2 separate regions of the Homo sapiens genome follow, and region 2 is linked to region 1. The links are contacts of gene promoters, found by promoter capture Hi-C in blood cells and fetal thymus (Javierre and others, 2016). All regions are on one chromosome and are shown on one strand. The core of a region is centred on a gene start or on the middle of the fragment in contact, and the rest is flanking DNA. Distances in the headings are between cores, read along the strand shown.

Region 1 (7,160 bases), core at 4,661-7,160:
TCAGCAGACCTTCACGGTGAGCGTTACAGCTCACAAAGGCAATGCGGACCCAAAGAGTAAGCAATAACAATATTTACCGCAACGACTAAAAGAACAAACCTCTCACGACATACAAATGGACCCAACCGGGTTGCCACTGCTAGCTCTGGCAGCCTGCTTTTATTCTCTTACCTGGCCCCACCCACATCCTGCTGATTGGTCCATTTTACAGAGAGCCCATTGGTCCATTTTACAGAGAGCTGATTGGTCCGTTTTGACAGGGTGCTGATTGGTGTGTTTACAATCCCTGAGCTAAACACAAAGGTTCTCCAAGTCCCCACCAGAGTAGCTAGATACAGAGTGTCGATTGGTGCATTCACAAACCCTGAGCTAGACACAGGGTGCTGATTGGTGTGTTTACAAACCTTGAGCTAGATACAGAGTGCCAATTGGTGTATTTACAATCCCTTACCTAGACATAAAGGTTCTCCAAGTCCCCACCAGACTTAGGAGCCCAGCTGGCTTCACCCAGTGGATCCTGCACCGGGGCGCAGGTGGAGCTGCCTGCCAGTCCCGCACCCTGCACCTGCACTCCTCAGCCCTCAGGTGGTTGATGGGACTGGGCGCAGTGGAGCAGGGGGTGGCGCTCGTCGGGGAGGCTCGGGTGGCACAGGAGCCCACGGAAGAGGGGGGAGGCTCAGGCATGGCGGGCTGCAGCTCCTGGGCCCTGCCCGGCTGGGAGGCAGCTAAGGCCCTGCGAGAAATTGAGCACAGCAGCTGCTGGCCCAGGTGATAAGCCCCTCACTGCCCTGGGCTTGCAGGCCGGCTGAGCCCACGCCCACCCGGAACTTGTGCTAGCCCACAAGCGCCACGGCAGCCCCGGTTCCCGCCCGCACCTCTCCCTCCACACCTCCCTGCAAGCTGAGGGAGCCGGCTCTGGCCTTGGCCAGCCCAGAAAGGGGCTCCCACAGTGCAGCCGCATGCTGGACAGCTCCTCAAGCGTGGCCAGAGTGGTGGCCAAGGCCAAGGAGGTGCCGAGAGTGAGCGAGGGCCGCGAGGGCTGCCAGCACATTGTCACCTCTCAGAAGTACAAATTAAACGTCAATAAGATACCACTATACATCAATTAGAATGGCTAAAATTTTTTTATTTTTAAAGAACAAAACCCCAGGCCAGGCGCGGTGGCTCACGCTTGTAATCCCAGCACTTTGGGAGGCCGAGGTGGGCGGATCACAAGGTCAGGAGATCGAGACCATCCTGGCTAACACGGTGAAACCCCGTCTCTACTAAAGATACGAAAAGTTAGCTGGGCGTGGTGGCGGGCGCCTGTAGCCCCAGCTACTTGGGAGGCTGAGGCAGGAGAATGACATGAACCCCGGAGGTGGAGGTTGCAGTGAGCCGAGATTGTGCCACTGTACTCCAGCCTGGGCGGCAGAGCGAGACTGTCTCAAAAAAAAAAAAAAGAACAAAACCTCAAATCTGATAATACCAACTGTAGACAAGAATGTGGAGCAACTGGAACAGTCATACATTGCTGGTGAGAATGCAAAATGATACAACTGCTCTGGGGAAACAGGTTAGCAATTTCTCATGAAGTTAAACATGTACTTTGTGTTTGACCTAGCAATCTCCTAGGTGATTCTCACCCAAGAGAAACAAAACTTATGTTTGCAAGAAACCTGTACACTAATGTATATAGCAACTTTATAATTGCTAAAAACTGGAAACAAACCAATATCTTGCAGTTGGTAAGTAGATAGTATGGAATACCCTTGGCAATAAAAATGAGTAAGTTATTATATACTACAACTTGGATGAATCTCAAATGCATTATGCTAAGTGAAAAAAAGCCAAACTCATAAGGCTACATATGATACGATTTTGTTGTGTGACATTCTGGAAAGGCAAAACTATAGGGACACAAGACAGACAGACCAGTGCTTGCCAGGGATTAACAGTGGAAGCAGGGTTTGACCATGAAGGAGTTTTGGGGGTGACAAGATACTCTGGTTTTTTTTTTTTTCTTGAGACAGAGTCTCGCTTTGTCGCCCAGGCTGGAGTGCAGTGGCACGATCTCAGCTCATTGCAAAAACTGGAAACGAAGTAAATATGGCAACATGCTAATTACATGTGACATTATCAGTATTTGCTTTATTATTGTACTTGTATATTTTAATTGGTCGACATACAAACAAGGCAAAATATATCCCCCTTAGAGAAAATTTGGAAAAGACAGAAAAGGAGATAGAACAAGTCACCAGTTGTCTTTATTTATTTATTGAAACGGAGTCTCGCTCTGTCGCCCAGGCTGGAGTCCGGTGGCGCCATCTCCGCTTACTGCAAGCTCTGCCTCTCGGGTTCATGCCATTCTCCCGCCTCAGCCTCCCGAGTAGCTGGGACTACAGGCGCCCACCACCATGCCCGGCTAATTTTGTTTTTGTATTTTTAGTGGAGACAGGGTTTCACTGGGTTAGCCAGGATGGTCTTGATCTCTTGACCTCGTGATCCACTTGCTTTGGCCTCACAAAGTGCTGGGATTACAGGCGTGAGCCACTGCGCCCGGCCCACCGGTTGTCTTTAGACATTGTATTTTTTATTCTTTTCTACATGTCTTTTTGCCTAATGAAAAGTGTACTGTAAGAAAAATTTTGCCTGTGTATTCTAAACTTGTTTCCTTTGCAACTTTTTCTTTTCTTTTTTCTTTTTTGAGACAGAGTCTCGCTCTGTTACCCAGGCTAAAGTGCAGTGTCGCGATCACAGTTCACTGCAGCCTTGACCTTCCTGAGCTCAGGTGATCCTCCAGCCTCAGCCTCCTGAGCAGCTGGGACTACAGGTGCACCCACGCCCGGCTAATTTTTTGTATTTTTTGTAGAGACAGGATTTCATCATGTCGCCCAGCCTAGTGTCGAGCTCCTCAGCTCAAGTTATCCGCCCACCTCGGCCTCCCAAAGTGCCGGGATTACAGGCACAAGCCACCGTGCTTGGCCACCCCTTCCTCTTAAATGATCTTTGAAACATTATTTGCAGTCTCAAAGCCTGCATTTATCTAAACAACTGGTTTCATTTTAGGGATGTAGGCATTTCTGTAATATTAAACTGTTATATTTCACCTCGCTAGCATGGGAGTACAACTGAGGGGATGTTTGCATGAATCTTGTGAATTATGATGGCTCTAAGCCATTGTAATTTGATTAACAGAAGTCCTACTTTGGGGTTTATCTTATTTTTATTATTTATTTATTTTTTGAGTGGAGTCTCACTCTGTTGCCCAGGCTGGAGTGCAGTGGTGCTATCTGGGCTCACTGCAACCTCTGCCTCTGGGGTTTAAGTGATTCTCCTGCCTCAGCATCCCGAGTAGCTGGGATTACAGGCGCAGGCCACCATGCTGGCTAATTTTTTGTATTTTTAGTAGAGATGGGATTTCACCATGTCGGCCAGGCTGGTCACAAACTCCTGACCTCAAGTGATCTGCTCACCTTGGCCTCCCAAAGTGCTGGGATTACAGGCATGAGCCACTGCGTCTGGCCTACTTTGGGATTTTTCTCTACAGTGTTTTCATGTTGTTAATGTAGCTGGGGGTCCAGCATCACTGCTGGTCACTTAATCCTGCTGGAGGCCACCAGGATACACCATCTCTGTGCAGTGAGCTGTCAAGGAGAGCCCTAGGCAAAATTACTTAGGTTCATGGTGTCAGTGCTTTTGTGGAGATATCCAACTCCTGAGGTTCACTCATACTGTCATTTTCTCCTAAGGCATCAGGTGATGAGCCTCTCTGATCCAGCATTTTGACTACCCTTTTCACATTTTTTTTTTTTTCTGAGACAGAGTCTGGCTCTGTTGCCCAGGCTGGAGTGCAGTGGCATGATCACGGCTTACTGCAGCCTCAACCTCCCAGGCTCAAGTGATCCTCCTGCTTCAGCCTCCTGAGTAGCTGGGACTACAGGTGCACGCCACTATGCCTGGCTAATTCTTTCATTTTTTATAGAGACAGGACCTCGCTATGTTGCCCAGGCTGGTTCCAACTCCTGAACTCAAGTGATCCACCTGCCTTGGGCTCCCAAAATCTCGGGATTACAGGCGTATAGTGCTAGGCCTTCACATTCTTATATACCCTTCTGTTTCCTTAGCTGTGAAATGGAGATAATGACATAGCCTTAATTCACGTGGGATGCTTAGCACAGTGTCTGGCACTTGATAGATTTTTTTCTTTCTACTTGAAATTTATTTTTGAGCTGGGCACGGTGGCTCACACCTGTAATCCCAGCACTTGGGAAAACCAAGGCAGGCAGATTACCTGAGGTGAGGAGTTCAAGACCAGCCTGGCAAACATGGTGAAACCCCGTCTCTACTAAAAGTACAAAAATTACCTGGGTGTGGTGGCACACACCTGTAATCCCAGCTACTCCAGAGGCTGAGGCACGATAATCACTTGAACTCGGCAGATGGAGGTTGCAGTGAGCTGAGACTGAGCCACTGCACTCCAGCCTGGGTGATAAAGCGAGACTGTCTAAAAAAAAATTATTTTTAACTAATATAAAACTCTCTGAACCCTTCTTTTTCTGAGCTGCTTCTCCACTTGAGTCCATCCCACATCATTGAACATTTAATTACACAGAATTGTGTACCATCTTCCTTGACCCCCAGATCTTTAGCCTTCTATAGTACCCTGTCTCTTTTTGTCGTACTAGTCACAGTTGCACTTTTTTTTTTTTTTTTTTTGAGACAGAGTCTCATTCTGTCACCCAGGCTGCAGTGCAGTAGCACAATCTCAGCTCACTGCAACCTCCGCCTCCCGGGTTCAAGCAATTCTCCTGCCTCAGCCTCCTAAGTAGCTGGGATTACATGCGCGCACCACCACGCCAGGCTAATTTTTGTATTTTTAGTAGAGACGAGGTTTCACCATGTTGTCAGGCTGGTCTAGAACTCCTGACCTTGTGATCAGCCCACTTCAGCCTCCCAAAGTACTGGGATTACAGGCATGAGCCACTGCACCCGGCCATAGTTGCTATTTTATTTGTGTGATTGATTACCGTATGACGCTTTTATTGAAGTGCAGTGAAGGCAGGAAACATGACCGGTTTTTACAATATTTTCAACACTTATCACCATAGGTGGTACATAGTAGGGCCTTAATAAATATTTGTAAAATGAACAAAGTTAATGAGTGTTTATGTTTGTAGTTTTAATTGCTCTGAAGTAAATATCTGATTTTCCAATTTCCACCAGAGTGCTCTGCACATAGTAGGTCTAATTATTTTTCCCTCTTTACTAATCACCCATGCCTTGTAAGAATTCAGTTAGTTGACTTTTTGTACTTTATAAGCGTGATGATTGGGTGTTCCCGTGTGAGATGCGCCACCCTCGAACCTTGTTACGACGTCGGCACATTGCGCGTCTGACATGAAGAAAAAAAAAATTCAGTTAGTCCACCAGGCACAGTGGCTAAGGCCTGTAATCCCTGCACTTTGAGAGGCCAAGGCAGGAGGATCACTTGAACCCAGGAGTTCGAGACCAGCCTAGGCAACATAGCGAGACTCCGTTTCAAACAACAAATAAAAATAATTAGTCGGGCATGGTGGTGCGCGCCTACAGTACCAACTACTCGGGAGGCTGAGGCGAGACGATCGCTTGAGCCAGGGAGGTCAAGGCTGCAGTGAGCCAAGCTCGCGCCACTGCACTCCAGCCCGGGCGACAGAGTGAGACCCTGTCTCAAAAAAAAAAAAAACACCAAACCTTAGAGGGGCGAAAAAAAATTTTATAGTGGAAATACAGTAACGAGTTGGCCTAGCCTCGCCTCCGTTACAACGGCCTACGGTGCTGGAGGATCCTTCTGCGCACGCGCACAGCCTCCGGCCGGCTATTTCCGCGAGCGCGTTCCATCCTCTACCGAGCGCGCGCGAAGACTACGGAGGTCGACTCGGGAGCGCGCACGCAGCTCCGCCCCGCGTCCGACCCGCGGATCCCGCGGCGTCCGGCCCGGGTGGTCTGGATCGCGGAGGGAATGCCCCGGAGGGCGGAGAACTGGGACGAGGCCGAGGTAGGCGCGGAGGAGGCAGGCGTCGAAGAGTACGGCCCTGAAGAAGACGGCGGGGAGGAGTCGGGCGCCGAGGAGTCCGGCCCGGAAGAGTCCGGCCCGGAGGAACTGGGCGCCGAGGAGGAGATGGAGGCCGGGCGGCCGCGGCCCGTGCTGCGCTCGGTGAACTCGCGCGAGCCCTCCCAGGTCATCTTCTGCAATCGCAGTCCGCGCGTCGTGCTGCCCGTATGGCTCAACTTCGACGGCGAGCCGCAGCCCTACCCAACGCTGCCGCCTGGCACGGGCCGCCGCATCCACAGCTACCGAGGTACGGGCCCGGCGCTTAGGCCCGACCCAGCAGGGACGATAGCACGGTCTGAAGCCCCTCTACCGCCCCGGGGTCCATTTTGCAGACGGGGAACTGAGGCCCCTTGAGGCAGGACACATCCAGGGTGACGCTGCTCGTAAGCGTCAGAGCATTCTTTTTTTTTTTTTTTTTTTTCTGAGACGGAGTCTCGCTCTGTCGCCCAGGCTGGAGTGCAGTGGCGCGATCTCGACTCACTGCAGCCTCCGCCTCCCGGGTTCAAGCGATTCTCCTGCCTCAGCCTCCTGAGTAGCTGGGATTACAGGCGTGCGCCACCGCGCCCGGCTGATTTTTATATTTTTAGTAGAGACGGGGTTTCACCATGTTGGTCAGGCTGGTCTCGAACTGCTGACCTCGTGATCCGCCCGCCTCGGCCTCCCAAAGTGCTGGGCTTATGGGCATGAGCCTCCGCGCCCGGCCCAGAGCATTCTTTATAAGGCCGAATAGTTTGCATTTGAAGGTGGCTCCCCCCAGTCCCCCACCCCACGTGTATTTTCCCCTCAAAGAAAAGCTGCATCCTTAACACCCCATCTGTTCAGTCCTCATGACTCCAGTGGGCCAGTTCTGCGTAGTCCCTGCCCTCGTGGAGAACACATTCCTCCTGGGGAGACTGACAGATGCAAAGACAGGAACAAGCCAGGGTCATGTTGGCGCCGGAAGAGCCGACCGTGTGTGGCGTGGGAAATTGACTTACCTGCCTGCTGGGAGATGGAGGGGTTGCGGTTGTGTGGTTTCAGTTAAGGAGCACTTCCCGGAGAAGGAAGAGAGCAGGATGGAGTAGGAACTAGCCAACCCTAGGTAAGA
Region 2 (7,160 bases), core at 2,751-5,250, 260 kb before region 1:
TACCTGAGGTCGGGAGTTTGAGACCAGCCTGGCCAACATGACAAAACCCCATCTTTACTAAAAATACAAAAATTAACTGGGCGTGGTGGTGCATGCCTGTAGTCCCAGCTTCTTGGGAGGCTGAGGCATGAGAATCACTTGAACCTGGGAGGCGGAGACTTCAGTGAGCTGAGATCATGCCACTGCACTACAACTTGGGTGACACAGCAAGACTCCATCTTGGGCTGGGTGTGGTAGCTCACACCTGTAATCCCAACACTTTGGGAGGCCAAGGTGGGTGGATTGCCTGAGCTCAGGAGTTCGAGACCAGCCTGGGCAACACAGTGAAACCCTGTCTCTACTAAAGTACAAAAAATTAGCTGGGTGTGGTGGTGTGTGCCTGTAGTCCCAGCTACTCAGGAGGCTGAGGCAGGAGAATCGCTTGATTCTGGGAGGCAGAGGTTGCAGTGAGCCAAGATCGCGCCATTGCACTCCAGCCTGGATGACAAGAGTGAGACTTCGTCTCAAAAAAAAAAAAAAAAAAAAAAAAAAACTAATGGAAGTGGGAAGCATGAGATTTTCCAGCAAGAAAAATGTGCCCTGAAAATACCACTGACCTACTGATAGTGTAGGATGGTAACGTACTGCCCCCCTCCTGTTACCAAACAGACATCAGTCATTGCTAATTAGTTGGACAGCTCTCCAGGTGGGCATTACCATCTGTAGGCGCTGGTAGGTATCAGAAAGGAAACTGTGCCACCTTCTAAGCCCTGACCTCCATCTCTGCTGAATCCCAGCTCACAGCTGGGCTGTGCAACGCGCAGGTGCTCTCACCTTGAGGAGGAGGTCCTCAAGACTGTAAGCCATGATGCCCTTCCTCACGCTTCGATCCGCCGTGCTTACGCGGCAGGGCCGGGCCCTGGGGGCCTTGGGGCTGGGCTCCGACAGCAGCTGCTGGGTCACCACAGAGGTACGCACTGACACATGCCTGGGGCAGTTGAAGCATCAGGGTGAGCCACCCACTTTGCCCAACCCTTGCCCACCACACAGGGGAGCCACCTCCCCACCCCTCCTGACTGGGCTCATGATCAGTCAACCCCCCATCACCTGCTAATCCTGCCCTAGTCTTACTCAGAAGCCTGCTAGAAGCCAGGCACGGTGGCTCATGTCTGTAATCCCACACTTTGGAAGGCTGAGGTGGGCAGATCACTTGAAGTCAGGAGTTCAAGACCACCCTGGCTAACATGGTGAAACACCATCTCTACTAAAAATACAAAGATTAGCCAGTGTGGTGGCACATGCCTGTAATCCCAGCTCCATAGGCCGGGACACAAGAATTGCTTGAACCCTGGGAGGCGGCAGAGGTTGCAGTGAGCTGTGATGGTGCCACTGCACTCCAGCCTGGGCAACAGAGGGAGACCTCGACTTAAAAAAAAATAATAAAATAAAAATTAAAAAAAGCCTGCTAGAGCAGTGCATCTCAAACTTCGAAGGACACATAAGTCACCAGGGCTTCTGTTCAAATGCAGATTCTGACTGAGTAGACCTGGGTGAGGCCTGAGATTCCAAATGTTTCACAAGTTCCCAAGTGATGTTGATAACGCTGGTTCTCAGACCATGAGGAGTAAGTAGCAAAGTAATAAAAGACCCACCCCACATTCCCCATTTACCACCTGTCTTGGCCTCACTCTCCTCACCTGTAAAGTTGGATGAAGTGGGGGAAGCCTGAAGTCAATGTAAGGTATTTTTTTAACTGAAGCACTCAATTTAGAACCAAAGGAAAGGAAAGGACCTGGATTTTACAGTCAGGCAGTCCCAATTTAGAATCTTGGCTCCCTCATGGATTTGCTGGGTGATTGAGAGCACCCACTATGTGCCTCAGTTCTCTCACCTATTAATTTGGTATAATAACCCCCACTTCCCAAAGTTGTTGTGAGGCTTACATGAGATCAGGAGTAAAAGCACCAAGCATAGTGTCTACTCCTTTTTATGCATGGTGTGGTGGTGGTGTAAGCAGCAGCATTAATATCACCCAGGGACTTCTTGGCAGTGCAAAATCTCGGGTCCCACTCCAGACCTCCTGAATCAGAATCTGCACTTGAACAAGGTCCCCTGTGACCTGTATACCCATTAAAGTTTGAGAAGTTCTGGCTTACAGCTCATAGGTGGCTCTCTTTCCATTCTGCCCATGACTTTCCTCACCTGGAGAGGGACTTGGGGTAGAGAAGGCTAAGGGACTTCATGGCGTATTCCATCCTTGTCAGCTGGACTGCGTTGGACCTGGGAAGGAGGCAGAAACAATTCATCAGGGTGAGATGAGAGGGTTCCCATCTCTCTCATTGTTAGGCAAGGTGCAACCCAACCCCTGTTCAGCAACCTTCCTCCCTATTCTTCTATCCCAACTCACACATACCTCCCCCAGCCCTTCTCCTGTCCGGCCCCATGCATGCCAACCAAGACCAAGCTGGAGACCCCACCCCTCTCCCCACCGGGTGCTCAGGCTCAGCCTCACTCAGCAGCTGCTGCTCCTGCCCCAGTCCCACTCACTCCATGTTTCTCATCCCCTGGCTCTGGTCACACTGAGCAGATAACCCAACTCAGGGCTGAAGAAGCCTTGCCCGATTTGTTCCTGTCCATGGGGACAGAGTCCACTTTACGCTGGCAGGAGGTGAGTCACACCACCTCACACTTCTGGGGACCGTTCCCTCACCTCTAGTCCAGAGACCTCACAGGCAGGCAGCCCAGTCAAAGCCTCCTCTCTCCCATGGGTCCTTGAGCAATCCGAGCCCCTTCCTGAGGCTTCACAGTGGCCAAAAGAACATTCTGTGATGATAGAGGCATGCCTTGTACATACTCTCCAATACCATTGCTACTAGCCCCATGTGGCTATTGAGTATTTGAAACATAACTAGTGTGATTCAGGAGCTGAATTTTTTTTTTTTTTGAGTTTCGCTCTTGTCACCCAGGCTGGAGTGCAATGGGGCGATCTTGCTCACTACAACCTCCGCCTCCTGGGTTCAAGCAATTATCCTGCCTCAGCCTCCCCCGTAGCTGGGATTACAGGCACCTGCCACCACGCCCAGCTAATTTTTAGTTTAGTTTCGTTTTGTTTGGATTTTTAGTAGAGACTGGGTTTCACCATGTTGGCTAGGCTGGTCTTGAACTCCTGACCTCAGGTGATCTCCCTGTCTTGGCCTCCCAAAGTGCGGGGATTACAGGCGTGAGCCACTGCACCTGGCACAGGAGCTGTATTTTTTACTTTATTGAATTTTAACTAATTTAAATTTAAATAGCCACATTGCCATGTGGCTGTTGGCACCCATATTAGATCACAGGTCTAAGCAGATAGCCCTGGGCTCATCTGTCACCACTTTTTCTCCTAAACCTCTGTGCTCCAACTCTTGAAGGGCCCAACCCTTTGCACAGATAGTTCCCTCCACCTGTAGTGCCCTTCTCTGATCCAGGACGAAATTTTTGCAGCCTTGAAGCCTCAGTTTCATTGCTTTCCACTCTTTAAAAGGAAAGTCTTCTTAGACCACTCCCAAAATTATTACACCTTCATCCTGCTCTTCCTAGCCAAGGGTGCCTCTGGGTCTGTTTCTGCTGTAGCCCCTCAGTCCCTGGATGCCTGGCCCTGAGGTCCTCTTCCTATTCGAAGCTCCCGGCACAGGTAGGGCTTCGCAGAGCAAGGGGCACAAGGGGTGGACATAAAACAAAAGTCCCCTTGCCAGCTGGGGACAATCACTCTTTGCTTTTAACAATTTGGGGGACTTTCCAGACCAGGCCCCACAGAGGCAGAAAGCCCCTTTCCCACTTAGCACTGCAGAAGCTCTAGTCCTAGCTACGTGGGAGGCTGAGGCAGGAGGATTCTGCTTGCCTCAGCCTCACCCACTTCGTATCCCTAGCAAAACTCTGCCAAGAGCTACCTAACCTGCTCTCCAGGAGCAAAGAAAAAAAAATCCCCAAACCCAAAACAATAACAAACTCCTTACCTCCCCCTCACAGCCTCCTGGAAATACTGCCCTGTCCCGCCCAGCCCTCCCTTCATTTATTTCCAGCCCCCATGAAGCTCCTCCCCAGCCTTCAGCCCCAGCTGGGGAAAAGAGCTTGGGGTGAGAGCTGCAAGCCAGCCTGACTTCCAGAAAAGGCCTAAAAGGAGGGGAGAAGGCATGTTTCGAAAGCTTTGGCAAAATGGATGGCCCATGACATGAGATCAAGCACAGAGGGCACAGAAAGCAGGCAGATGTGGGTTGTGGTCCCAACTCCACCCCATATCAGCTTGCTTGAGCTTAGACAGATCACTTGACTTCTGTGAGCCCGTTTCTCTTCTCTGTGTAATGACGATAATGATTCTTGTTTTATAGGGTAGTGGTGAGGATTAGTGACAATAAAAGTAAAGGGGCACAGTGGCTCATGCCTATAATCCCAGTGTTTTGGGAGGCTGAGGCGGGAGGATTGCTTGAGGACAGGGGTTGGAGGACAGCCTGGGCAATAGAGTGAGACCCTGTCTCTGAAAAAAAAAAAAAAAAAGAAAAGAAAAGAAAAAAGAAAAAAGTAGCCTGGGTGCCGTGGCTCACGCCTGTAATCCCAGCACTTTGGGAGGCCGAGGCAGGTGGATCACTTGAGGTCAGGAGTTTGAGACCAGCATGGCCAACATGGTGAAGCCCCGTCTCTACTAAAAATAGAAAAATGAGCCAGGCGTGGTGGTGTGTGCCTGTAATCCCAGCTATCTGGGAGGCTGAGGCAGGAGAATCGCTTGAGCCTGGGAGGCAGAGGTTGCGGTGAGCTTAGATCACACCACTGCACTCCATTCTGGGTGACAGAGTGAGACCCTGTCTCAAAAAAAAAAAAAAAAAAAAAAAAGTCCGGGCACGGTGGCTCACACCTCTAATCCCAGAACTTTGGGAGGCCGAGGTGGGCAGATCACAAGGTCAAGAGTTCGAGACCAGCTTGGTCAATATGGCGAAAACCCCATCTCTACTAAATATACAAAAATTAGCCGTGCGTGGTGGTGGGTGCCTGAAATCCCAGCTACTCAGGAGGCTGAGGCAGGAGAATCATTTGAACCCGGGAGGCAGAGGTTGCAGTGAGCCGAGATCACGCCACTGCACTCCAGCCTGGGTGACAGAGTGAGACTCTGTCTCAAAAAAATAAAAATAAATAAAAATAAAGGCTTTGCAAACATAAACACTCAATGGATCGAAGTGATTATTAGTATTACTGATAATTTTTTATTTTTATTTTATTATTTTTAATTTTTTTGTCTTTTTCTCAATTTGATAATGTACATATTAAATCATAGCAGAGAGTAAGACAAGCTGAAATGTGGAGTGGTTAAGAGTGTAAGATCTCTGACCCAGCAGTTCCACTTCTGTGTGTGTGCGTGTGGTGTATGTGTGTCATACAGAGCACACCTGTTGTCCCAGCTGCTCAGAAGGAGGCTGATGCAGGAGGATCACTTGAGCCCAGGAATTAAAATTTAGCCTGAGTAACATAGGGAGACCCTGTCTTTACAAAAGAAAAGAAACAAAACCAAAACCAAACAAAATTACATATATATGTGTATATATATACACACACACATATATATATACACATACATATCCAAAAGAAATGAAAAATATGTCTACACAAAAACTTGTATGTGAATATCCATAGGATTATTCGTAATAGCCAAAAGGTAGAAACACATGAATGTTCAATTTATAAATCGATTTTTTAAATGTGCCTATCCATACATGGCATATTATTTATCAAAAAGGATCCATACTACCACATGGAGGAACCTTGCAAACAGTACAGAAAGTAGACAAAGCCAGTCACAGGAATCATATACATATTGTATGATTCCACTTATATGAAATGTCTAGAATAGGCAAATCTATATAAAGACAAAGTAGGGCCGGGCGCGGTGGCTCACGCCTGTAATCTCAGCACTTTGGGAGGCTGAGGTGGGCGGATCACGAGGTCAGAAGATCGAGACCATCCTGGCTAACACGGTGAAACCCGGTCTCTACTAAAAATACAAAAAATTAGCCGGGCGTGGTGGCGGGCGCCTGTAGTCCCAGCTACTCGGGAGGCTGAGGCAGGAGAATGGCGTGAACCCGGGAGGCGGAGCTTGCAGTGAGCCGAGATCGCACCACTACACTCCAGCCTTGGGCGACAGAGCGAGACTCCGCCTCCAAAAAAAAAAAAAAAAAAAAAAAGACAAAATGGGTTAGTGGTTGCTTCGGGCTGGGAGTAGGGGATGGGAGGGGAATGGGGAGTGGCTGCTAATTAGTACAGGGTTTCTTTCAGGGTTTTCTTTTCTTTTTTTTTTTTTTCTTTTCTTTTTGAAACGGAGTCTCGCTCTGTCGCCCAGGCTGGAGTGCAGTGGCACCATCTCCGCTCACTGCAAGCTCCGCCCCCCAGGTTCCCGCCATTCTCCTGCCTCAGCCTCTAGAGCAGCTGGGACTACAGGCGCCCGCCACCACGCCCGGCTAATTTTTTGTATTTTTAGTAGAGACGGGGTTTCACCGTGTTAGCCAGGATGGTCTCGATCTCCTGACCTCATGACCCACCCGGCTGGGCATCCCAAAGTTCTAGGATTACAGGCAGGAGCCACCGCACCCAGCCTTTTCTTTTTCTTTTCTTTCTTTTTTTTTTTTTTGAGACAGAGCATTGCTCTGTCACTCAGGCTGGAGTGCAGTGGCACGATCTCGCCTCACTGCAAGCTCCGCCTCCCGGGTTCACGCCATTTTCCTGCCTCAGCCTCCCCAGTAGCTGGGACTACAGGTGCCTGCCACCACGCCTGGCTAATTTTTTTGTATTTTTAGTAGAGACGGGGTTTCACCGTGTTAGCCAGGATGGTCTTGATCTCCTGACCTCGTGATCTGCCTGCCTCAGCCTCCCAAAGTGCTGGGATTACAGGCGTGAGCCACCGCGCCCGGCCTTCTTCTTTTTTTTTTTTTTTTTTTTTTTTTTTTTTTTTTTGAGACAGAGTCTCGCTATGTCACCACCCAGGCTGGAGTGCAATGGCGCGATCTCAGCTTACAGCAACCTCTACCTCCCACAGGCGTGTGCCACCACACCTAGCTAATTTTTGTATTTTTAGTGACCTCTGCCTCCCGGGTTCAAGTGATTCTCCTGCCTCAGCCTCCCAAGTAGCTGGGATTACAGGCGCCTGCCACCACACCCGGCTA

What was found. The method cuts DNA at HindIII sites, captures the fragments that hold promoters and counts their contacts. A CHiCAGO score of 5 or more calls a contact.
Region 2: the fragment with the promoter of CIDEC here is called in contact with the fragment with the promoter of VHL in region 1 in 6 of 17 cell types (naive CD8 T cells, activated CD4 T cells, total CD4 T cells and 3 more); the score reaches 8.5 in naive CD8 T cells.

Annotation. Positions count from the first base shown.
Region 1 is chr3:10,135,868-10,143,027 of GRCh38, forward strand. It overlaps VHL (von Hippel-Lindau tumor suppressor), which reads left to right and starts at 5,911. Exons shown (of 3, transcript NM_000551.4): 1 at 5,911-6,320. The coding sequence starts at 5,981. It also overlaps the pseudogene LOC124906359. RefSeq lists an enhancer at 6,828-7,160. The HindIII fragment of the contact is 16,438 bases long and covers 1-7,160 here.
Region 2 is chr3:9,876,253-9,883,412 of GRCh38, forward strand. It overlaps CIDEC (cell death inducing DFFA like effector c), which reads right to left and starts at 4,001. Exons shown (of 7, transcript NM_001321142.2): 1 at 3,972-4,001; 2 at 2,690-2,802; 3 at 2,182-2,259; 4 at 814-967. The coding sequence starts at 2,234. The HindIII fragment of the contact is 5,760 bases long and covers 1-4,158 here.